Linked DNA regions of Homo sapiens: region 1 is linked to region 2. The links are contacts of gene promoters, found by promoter capture Hi-C in blood cells and fetal thymus (Javierre and others, 2016). All regions are on one chromosome and are shown on one strand. The core of a region is centred on a gene start or on the middle of the fragment in contact, and the rest is flanking DNA. Distances in the headings are between cores, read along the strand shown. Region 1 has its middle 21 kb from the start of OR6J1. Region 2 holds the start of MMP14 (matrix metallopeptidase 14).

Region 1 (4,674 bases), core at 903-3,402, 210 kb after region 2:
TCCACCCCTTGGCCTCTCAAAGTGCTGGGATTACAGGCATGAGCCAACACATCTGGCCTCTTTTTTTTTTTTTTTTTTTTGAGATGGAGTTTTGCTGTTGTCATCCAGGCTGGAATGCAATGGCATGATCTCGGCTCACTGCAACCTCTGCATCCCGGGTTCAAGCGATTCTTCTACCTCAGTTTCCCAAGTAGCTGGGATTACAGGAACCTGCTACCACACCCGGCTAATTTTTGTATTTTTAGTAGAGACGAGGTTTCACCATGTTGGCCAGGCTGGTCTCGAACTCCTGACCTCAGGTGATCCACCCACCTTGGCCTCCCAAAGTGCTGGGATTACAGGCATGAGCCACTGGTTCCGGCTTCATTGGTCATTTGTACACTTTATCAGAGCCAAAAGGCCGAGAAGCGATCATTCATTGGTCATTTGCATATCTTCTTCTGTAAATTACTTATTCATATTTCTTGCCATGTACACAAAAATAAAACATTTATTTTTCTCTGGGTTGCTTTTCTTTTTCTGATCACTTGTTATAAACTATTCTCATTGCTTATCAAAAAGCTTTATTTTGCCGGGCGTGGTGGCTCATGCCTGTAATCCCAGCACTTTGGGAGGCCGAGGAGGGTGGATTGCCTGAGGTCAGGAGTTCGAGACCAGCGCCAACATGGCAAAACCCTGTCTCTACTAAAAATACAAAAAGATTAGCCATGCAGGGTCATGTGTGCCTGTAATCCCAGCTACTCAAGAGGCTGAGGCAAGATAATTGCGTGAACCTAGGAGGTGGAGATTGCACTGAGCCGAGAGCGCGCCACTGCACTCCAGCCTGGGTGACAGAGTGAGGCTCTGTCTCAAAATAAAAAAAAAAAGCTTCATTTTGCAAACCCTTCAATCCTGCAATCTTACCTCAAGGAAGGAAATAATTGGTCAAATATGCAAATATGTACGTACAAGGGACTTAGCGCACATTGTTTATAACATACAAATATTTGGAAGCAATTTAAAGTCCAAGAACAGAGAAGCAGGTAAATGAACTATAGTAAATCCAGACAGTGGAAGAAGATGCAACAGTTAAAAATGATGATATATTTCTATGGATTCTATATTTATTGGTATAGAAAGAGATTTATAACAATAAGGTTAAAAATTTTTATAAAGCACTTTGTTAGTATGCTCTCATTCTAGTAAATATACATTTATGTATATAATAACATATATATCATCTGAAAGAATATATTCCAATGTATTTAACATGGTTATTTGTGGGTAGTATAATTATAGATTTTTTAAAAAGTGTTTTTAATTTTGTCTTATTTTTGTACAATTAAAAATTTTTGTTTACATTTAAAAAAAGGAAAAATGTTCTCAGAATTGAACCCAACACTCAAATCAGGTTACAGTGAAACCATTGAGTCCCCCAATCAATGCAGGGAATGAGACCTAGCTTTCCATTAGCTTTTGGGGCAGCTTCATTCCTTTACTGCCATAAACAGAGCTTCTAGCCCACTAAAACCTTCACATCGGTTTAATCTTTTCACATCAACTGCCATTGCTTTACTAGTTTGGTTCATTTTTTTCTATCTTTTTTTTTTTTTTTTTTGGAGACATGGTCTGACTGTGTTGCCCAGGCTGTGGTGCAGTGGCACTCCATAGCTTCATAGCTCACTGCAGCCTTGAACTTCTGGGCTCAAGCAATCCTTCTGCCTCAGCCTCCCGAGTAGCTAGGACTACAGTCACATGCCACCATGCCCAGCTAATTAAATTTTTTATTTTTATTTTTACTTTTAGCTATGGAGTCTTGCCATATTGCCCAGGCTGGTCTTGAACTCCTGGGCTCAAGCGATCCTCCTGCCTCAGTCCCCTAAAGTGCTGGGATTACAGGCGTGAGCCACCACACTCGGCCGAGGTTCATTTTTCTCATGTGAAAGACTTGACATTCATCTCTGCCCACACTTTGATCATATCAGAAAACAACCTGTGCAGCCGCTTTCTGATTGCTGAAGCCGCTTCATTCTTCCTCAGCAGGACCCTTTGAGATACAATTGAAACTTCATGTTTGAGAATGCCCTGTCCCTTTTAAGCACTATAGATAATTTTCCTTGGAACATTCTGAAATCTGACTTCCTGAAATCTATAAAAATTACATCTGACAATCTTTTTTCAATATTCTAGTAAACGCAATTGTGAGTAGAGCAAGAATTTACTAGGTGCTCTGCTTCTGGCAGAAAGAGACTCATGTTAGTGTCCTGATTCTTGGAGACCTCTGGCACTACTGTAACTTGCTTTTGATGTTTGGCAGTCTGAACTAAGAAAGCAGCATCTGTGTCCTCCAATTATCTTAGTATCTATTTCTGTTTGTTTCTCCTTTTATCCCCATCCAAACATTTCCACCTTCAGTTCTGTGGTTTCCTTTTTGGCATACATGCTATTGTTGAGTCCCTTCAATTAGATTCACTTCCTCTGAACAGCGTTATCTTTCCACGGTCCCCTCCAGTCATGGGATCCACATGATTGACTTATCTATCTTCTTGTCATAAAATTCAAGTTCCTCTCCCACTCTGGTCTTCTGTAATATAGCCAGCACTCCCCAGACTTTAGGATTTTAATAATATTAATTACAAATACAGGAAAAAATTCTAAAATTGATATGTTTGGAAACAAAAAATGACATTCCCTCTCACCCCCAAACAATCGTAGAATATCAGCATCTTTTTATAAAATAACAATAGTTTAATCCTGAAAGGGTTAGAAAGGATATAATTTCAGAATTTAAAAATACTAAAAAAAAAAAGGCACTATTTTGTTATGAACCAGAAATACTTTATCATGGACCAGCTCCAGTCTGTGGATCTATGTAGGAAGCCACTGCTATAATATATGGTTTTGCAGTTACATTTGGACACTTTCCTTGAACATTTTAGAAAGTACATGATGCCCAGTTTTTGTGTTAGTTACCTCATAATTTATCAGAGGCCCATAAATCTATCATAAGTTGTGAGCCCTCTCAAAAATTCTTTTCCCAGACACAACACATGGTGTCAGCTGGTCAAACTGAGAAGATGAAAATATCACCTCTAACGCCATATCCTTCAGGATCCTTTTCAGCCACTAGCATGTCTCAGGATTCTTCTGGTTGTGTGTGATTTGTTCTCATATTGTTATAGTTTGGATATCTGACTCTTCAAATCTCATGTTGAAATTTGATCCCCAATGTTGAGATGGGGCCTAATGGGAGGTGTCTGGGTCATGGGGCAGATTCCTCATGAATGGCTTGGTGCTGTCTGTGTGGTTATGAGTGAGTTCTTGTTCTAGCAGTGCCTGGGAGAGATTGTTAAAACAAGCCTGGCACCTCACTTGTTTCTCTCTGGCCTGCGCTGCCTTGTCATGTGATCTCTGCACACTCCAGCTCCCCTTACCCTTCCAGCATGAGTGGAAGCTTCCTGAGGCCCTCACCAGAAGCAGATGCTGATGCCATGCTTCTTGTACAGCCTGCAGAACTGACAGGTTTTCTTTTCTTTATAAATTACCTGGCCTCAGGTATTCCTTTATAGCAGAAGAAACAGACTAAGACACATATATACCAACTAAAATATGTGGTTGCTGAATTATCACAAACTCTCCATTAGGCCTCAGAATATTCCAGGAAGAAGGAGCATCAGCCATCAGTAAGGTGAAGTCTACAGATCTCCTAGGCCTTTAGCAGAGTCACCAACCAAGATAATGGGGTCCTTGTGGGTTGGGGAACAGACTCTGTGCACCTGCTGACATCTGTTAATCCTCCTTAGTATTCTCTCCAGGAATGAGGAAGGTCTTTCCTCCTTAACCCTAGTGAAGAGTGATATTTAGCAGGATGATGACAAAGATCTGTCTAGCATAACAATGCTGAACTTATACTATGAAAAACACTTGGGGTGGAGCCAAGATGGCCGAATATGAACAGCTCCAGTCTACAGCTCCCAGCGTGAGAGACGCAGAAGACGGGTGATTTCCGCATTTCCAACTGAGGTACCAGGTTCATCTCACTGGGGAGTGTTGGATAGTGGGTGCAGGAGAGTGGGTGCAGCGTACCGAGCGTGAGCCGAAGCAGGGCAAGCCATCGCTTCACTTGGGAAGTGCAAGGGGTCAGGGAATTCCCTTTCCTAGTCAAAGAAAGAGGTGACAGACGGCACCTGGAAAATTGGGTCACTCCCACCCTAAAACTGTGCTTTTCCAATGGTCTTAGCAAACTGCACCCCAGGAGATTATATCCCGTGCCTGGCTTGGAGGGTCCTATGCCCACGGAGCCTCACTCATTGCTAGCACAGCAGTCTGAGATCAAACTGCAAGGTGGCAGTGAGGCTGGGGAAGGGGCGCCCGCCATTGCCAAGGCTTGAGTAGGTAAACAAAGTGGCCGGGAAGCTCGATCTGGGTGGAGCCCACCGCAGCTCAAGGAGGCCTGCCTGCCTCTGTAGACTCCACCTCTGAGGGCAAGGCATAGCCAAACAAAAGGCAGCAGAAATCTCTGCAGACTTAAATGTCCCTGTCTGACAGCTTTGAAGAGAGTAGTGGTTCTCCCAGCACGCAGCTAGAGATCTGAGAACAGACAGACTGCCTCTTCAAGTGGGTCCCTGACCCCTGAGTAGCCTAACTGGGAGGCACCCCCCAGTAGGGGCAGACTGACACCTCACACGGCCGGTT
Region 2 (4,520 bases), core at 844-3,343:
TGCATGAGGCCTGCACCACCCCAGCTTTCCCTCCACATTGGCCTGGAGAAAAAAGCAACTATGTTGGGTCAAAGAACCCAGTCGGCTGGCTTTGTCTTTGCGAATGAGAGAGATGCAAGGTATCCCCTAGGAGAAAGTCAACGGAACACCTCCCACCTTGGCTTAGGGGTCCAGGGGAGGGTGGGGGGACCTCCAGCTCTGCAGTAGGCCCTGGATCCTAGCCTCTGGGGCTGCTCCTCCCTCCCTTCCTGGGCCCAGAAGCAAATGGTGGTTCTGGCACTGGGACCGCCCATGACCCAATTAAAACGGAGCCAGGGCAGCCGCCCCTCCCCTGGGGGACCCAGCAAAGCAGGGGAGGGAAAAAAGGTAAGGCAGTGAAGTTGGCGGTCGGCAGCTCCCCAGATGCTCAGGCTCGTTTTGTTAGGGGCGCTCCCTTTCAGGTCTCAGAGGACTCTAGGCCTGGGAAGAGGACGACTCCTCCCGGACAGTCAGGCTCAGCCTCCAGCACCAGGGCAGGTTTTTACTCTCCCTGGTCTCTGAGCACTCCACGTTTCGTCTTCCACCCCGATTCCTGGGGCCATACTTTTCCAGTCGGCCCCAGACCCTTTCAGGGACGCAGAGAGAAGACAGTATTCTTTCCAAAGAGTTTTCTCCGGGGTGGGACCAAGGAGGAGAAGCCAAACCCATATCCCATCCCCCTTCTAGGGCCCTTCCTGGCCCCTCCCAACCGCACCCAGGCCCTTGCCAGGCTGAGTGGGTTGAGATGGCCCAAAATAAGAAGCTCATTAAATCCGTCTCCCACCTTCACCCCAAAATAAGAGAGAGAGAGGAAAAACCTCCTCAGACAACTCCCACGCAGCTTCCTCTGGGGCCCGGTGGGCCACCGTCTGGGCCGGGGTGAGGGTGGGGGGCGCCCGAGCCAGCCCCGACGTGAGGGCACCCCGGACCAGACCCTCTCCCCATTCCCCAAGCGACGCCCCCAGGCTCCCTGCAATTAACACAGAAAAACTATTAACAACAAAAAGGGCCTGAAGGCGCCGACGCGGGTGGGGATAGGGGGAGGCAGCGACCCGGCCGATCGCCCGGCTCACAAGGAGAGCTTTGTGTGTACGGAAACGCGGCCAGCGCGCCGGCGCTGCGACCCTCGACGCCAGGGATGCGGGTAGGGACACAGCGGGGTCCTCTCGGGGAGACGGGGGCTGTGGCCCTGGACGCTCGGCCGTCCACCCTCGACCCCCACCTGGCCGCAGACTCGTCCGCTGAAGGCCTGGGCCACCCGGGGAGGCCGAAGCGCCCATCGGAGGGCGCGCCGGCGGGAGAGCGCTGGAGAGCTGGGAAGTCGAAGAAACAACAAACTCTCGCGCATGACGAGGAGCCGGGACAGCGCGGGGTTTGAGCGGAGTCCAAATGTTTATCAGGCGGTTCCAGAGCTGAGAGCAGAGCCCAAGGGAATCGGGGAAGGGGGAGTTCGCCCCAGTTGTAAAGTTCTTCCAAGGACTGGGAAAAAAGAAGGAATGGGAAGGAGAGTCGGCGGCGCAGGGGGTGGGGGCAGCTGGTTGGAAGCGGGCAAAAGTTGGATCGATCTGGAAGTTTGGAGACGAAGAGGAAAAAGAAAGGGAGGGGGAATCCTGCAGGCCTGAGCAGCGGAGATCCCAAAAGCCCTCCTCTCCGAATAGAGGCTGTCCCCTAGGAGACCCCCGGGCTCGCCTCCCGGCGGGCGCGACTCCGGGAAGGGCCGGGAAGCTCACTTACTTCGGGGCTGAAGCTGCTGCTTTGGGCCGAGCCGAGGGAGGCGAGCGCGGTGCCGAGCGTGAGCAGGGGGAGCAGGAGACAACGGGGGGGTCTTGGGGCGGGAGACATGGTCCGAGACCACCGGGTCAGCCGGGCAGTGTGGGCTCCGCGGCCGGGCCCACGCCCTGGGGTCGCACCGCCACTCCCTCGGGGCGCCTTTGTCTTCGGTAGGCACTGAACTTGAATTCCTAGACCGCTGTCGGCTTGGAGTTAAAGGGGATTGTTCCTCAAAGTGCCTGTTTGCTCTTCTCCTCTTTTCCGGTTTTTGATCTTTCTTCTGCTTAGTCGGCGAACTGGGGTCTGGTTCCCTCTCTCGCTCTCTCCTCTGGTCCCTCCCTTCTCCCACAGCCTCTCCTCCGTCCCCGCCCCAGTGCCCTCCTTTCCTGGTTGGGGACGTGGTTGTTTTAGCCTGAATCCAATTACAACCAAGAACTGGAAGGAAAAAAAAAAAAAACACCTCTAAGTTGCCTTTTTGTGGTGCAGGCTGCCATCTGCAGGGGTTGAGGCCGCGATGGACAGCAGGGGGCTGTAGGGGGATCCAGGGGACGGGATGTGGGAGACTTTGTCCCTATAAGCATATTCTGAGTGGCTTGATTCCTCTGGTATTCAGCATTTGTCTCACCTCAGGGTGGGAATTATTGGGGGCTATGTGGCTAGGGGCAACGAGGAGCTCAGAGTGTGGGATGGTGGTGGGGTCTTCTTCCATGCCCATGAGACCTGCAGAGGGAGAAGGGGCCAGTTTACTAATAGGGGGTTATCTTCTGGGCCCTGTAGACAACTGTCTATGTCCCTCCCTCTGCTGCTAAAAAATCCAAACTATAACCCAACTACCAACAACAAACCCCACAACCATACCGGATCTGTGGCTCCAACCTTTGTAGAAAGACAAAGGTGATTCCTTTATTGTCATTTGTAATGTGGCTGCACCTTTAATTGGAACTCGCTGGGAGGAAAAGGGTACAAGGCCGTGGGATCTGGGGGAAAGCAAATCAAGTTGGGTGAAATTATTGTAAAAGAAGGGATTGGGAGTTGGGACTCTGGGGTTTAGTTCCACCTCTACACTGAAAAAGGAGGCAATTCTTAAAGAGTTATAATCTCCTTTAGGGACTTACTGGACTCAGAACAAAAGGTGGAGGTATGTAGGGAAGGGAGAGGGCAGGATAAAGCTGACCGTGAGAAAGGGAGACAGATGAGTTGGGAACTAGACAGGTCTGGAAAAGAAGCACAACAGAAGCAGGAAAAGTGTGGGAGACAGAAAACTAGACTATCAGCGAAATCTAAGATCCAAGAATTGCATTTGGCCAGTGAGAGAGGACAGAGGTAGTGCGAGGAGGAAGGGAGAAGAAAGCAAAGGAAGGAATAGAGGAGGGTGGACAGAAATTAGGTCAGGTAGGAAGCTCCAGAAATCCTAGGGATGCACTTCTGTGGCAGAAGAATAGAAGTCTAGTGCTCAGTATTGTAATGAAAACAAAGGTCTTTTGCCCTCAGATTCATGATCAATAAAATGAAAAGCTTTTCAGGTCCTGTGGAGCCTCCAGGTTTGTGGGAGGTATATGGTGTGTGTTATTAAACAGCTACCTACCCCACAGTGACTGAGGGCTGAGCCCTTATGTAGGGCTTTCCTACACAAGCTGGGGTTGGGAGGTACAGGCCCCTCTTCAACCAATCTCTGGAATGCATTCAGAACCATGGAGACCTCAGGACCCCACTCTCGGCAGAACACGCAACACCCAGGTATGATTCTTCCCACATCAGCCTTCCCAGTGGGGGTAACCTCCTGGACCACATATCTGAATCTTAGGAAGACTGACACCAGATGCTTGCCAAAAAAGGGACCTTGGCTAGAAAATCTTTTTCATGAAAACATTTATTAGATGCCAGCTGTACATGGCCTAAACTGTGCATGAGCTGTTAAAGGCTTGACTGCCTGGCCAAAACTGGGAAAACTGCTGTCCCCTTTTCACGTTCACAGAACAGCTATTTCTCATAGTTGGGCTAGTCCTATGGCCTGCAAAGGAGGTAAATTTTTTTTTTTTTTTGAGACGGAGTCTCGCCCTGTCGCCCAGGTTGGAGTGCAATGGTGTGACCTTGGCTCACTGCAACCTCTACCTCCCGAGTTTAAGCGATTCTCCTGCCTCAGCCTCCTGAGTAGCTGGGATTACAAGCGCACCCCACCACGCCCGGCTAATTGTTTGTATCTTTAGTAGGGACAGGGTTTCACCATGTTGACCAGGCTGGGTTGGCCAGGCTGGTCTCGAACTCCTGATCTTGTGATCTGCCCGCCTCAGCCTCCCAAAGTGCTGGGATTACAGGCGTGAGCCACCGCACCCAGCTAGGAGGTAAAAATTTTAAAGCAAGACTTAGCTGAACTGGAATGGAACCAGAGATGAGAGTACTAAGCCAAGCCTCCCAGGCAGTGATCTAACAGCTTGTTCTTGGTGTCCCAGCTCTTTTTCTCTGAAGACAGATGGGGAACGTGAAGGCTATCTTCTGGCTGGATGAAGCATCTAGGTGATAGAAAAGAAATCCAGAGACAGGGTGAGGAAGGGAGGCAGGAGTTGCTTTTTATTGACTTGGAAGTGGGCTCTTCAGTGAAGCCCCTTTGGGTTTAAGAGCATTTTCCTGCTTCCTTTGTTCTTCCTGCAACTTCTGCTGCCTGAGCTGCCATGCTTGTAATCCAGCGTCCATTTCCTGTGACAGCAGTACAACTCGTCTCTGAAACAGACAGG

Evidence for each region. The method cuts DNA at HindIII sites, captures the fragments that hold promoters and counts their contacts. A CHiCAGO score of 5 or more calls a contact.
Region 1: a contact is called between a fragment that was not itself captured here and the fragment with the promoter of MMP14 in region 2, in 5 of 17 cell types (naive B cells, neutrophils, erythroblasts and 2 more). The highest score is 7.3, in naive B cells.

The regions. Positions count from the first base shown.
Region 1 is chr14:22,620,995-22,625,668 of GRCh38, reverse strand. No RefSeq gene overlaps it. Among named protein-coding and RNA genes, the nearest start is that of OR6J1, 21 kb to the left of the region's middle. The HindIII fragment of the contact is 2,566 bases long and covers 870-3,435 here.
Region 2 is chr14:22,834,158-22,838,677 of GRCh38, reverse strand. It overlaps MMP14 (matrix metallopeptidase 14), which reads right to left and starts at 2,093. Exons shown (of 10, transcript NM_004995.4): 1 at 1,753-2,093. The coding sequence starts at 1,860. It overlaps MRPL52 (mitochondrial ribosomal protein L52), which reads right to left. Exons shown (of 5, transcript NM_180982.3): 5 at 3,641-4,506. The coding sequence ends at 4,357. RefSeq lists a silencer at 2,219-2,435. The HindIII fragment of the contact is 13,873 bases long and covers 1-3,305 here.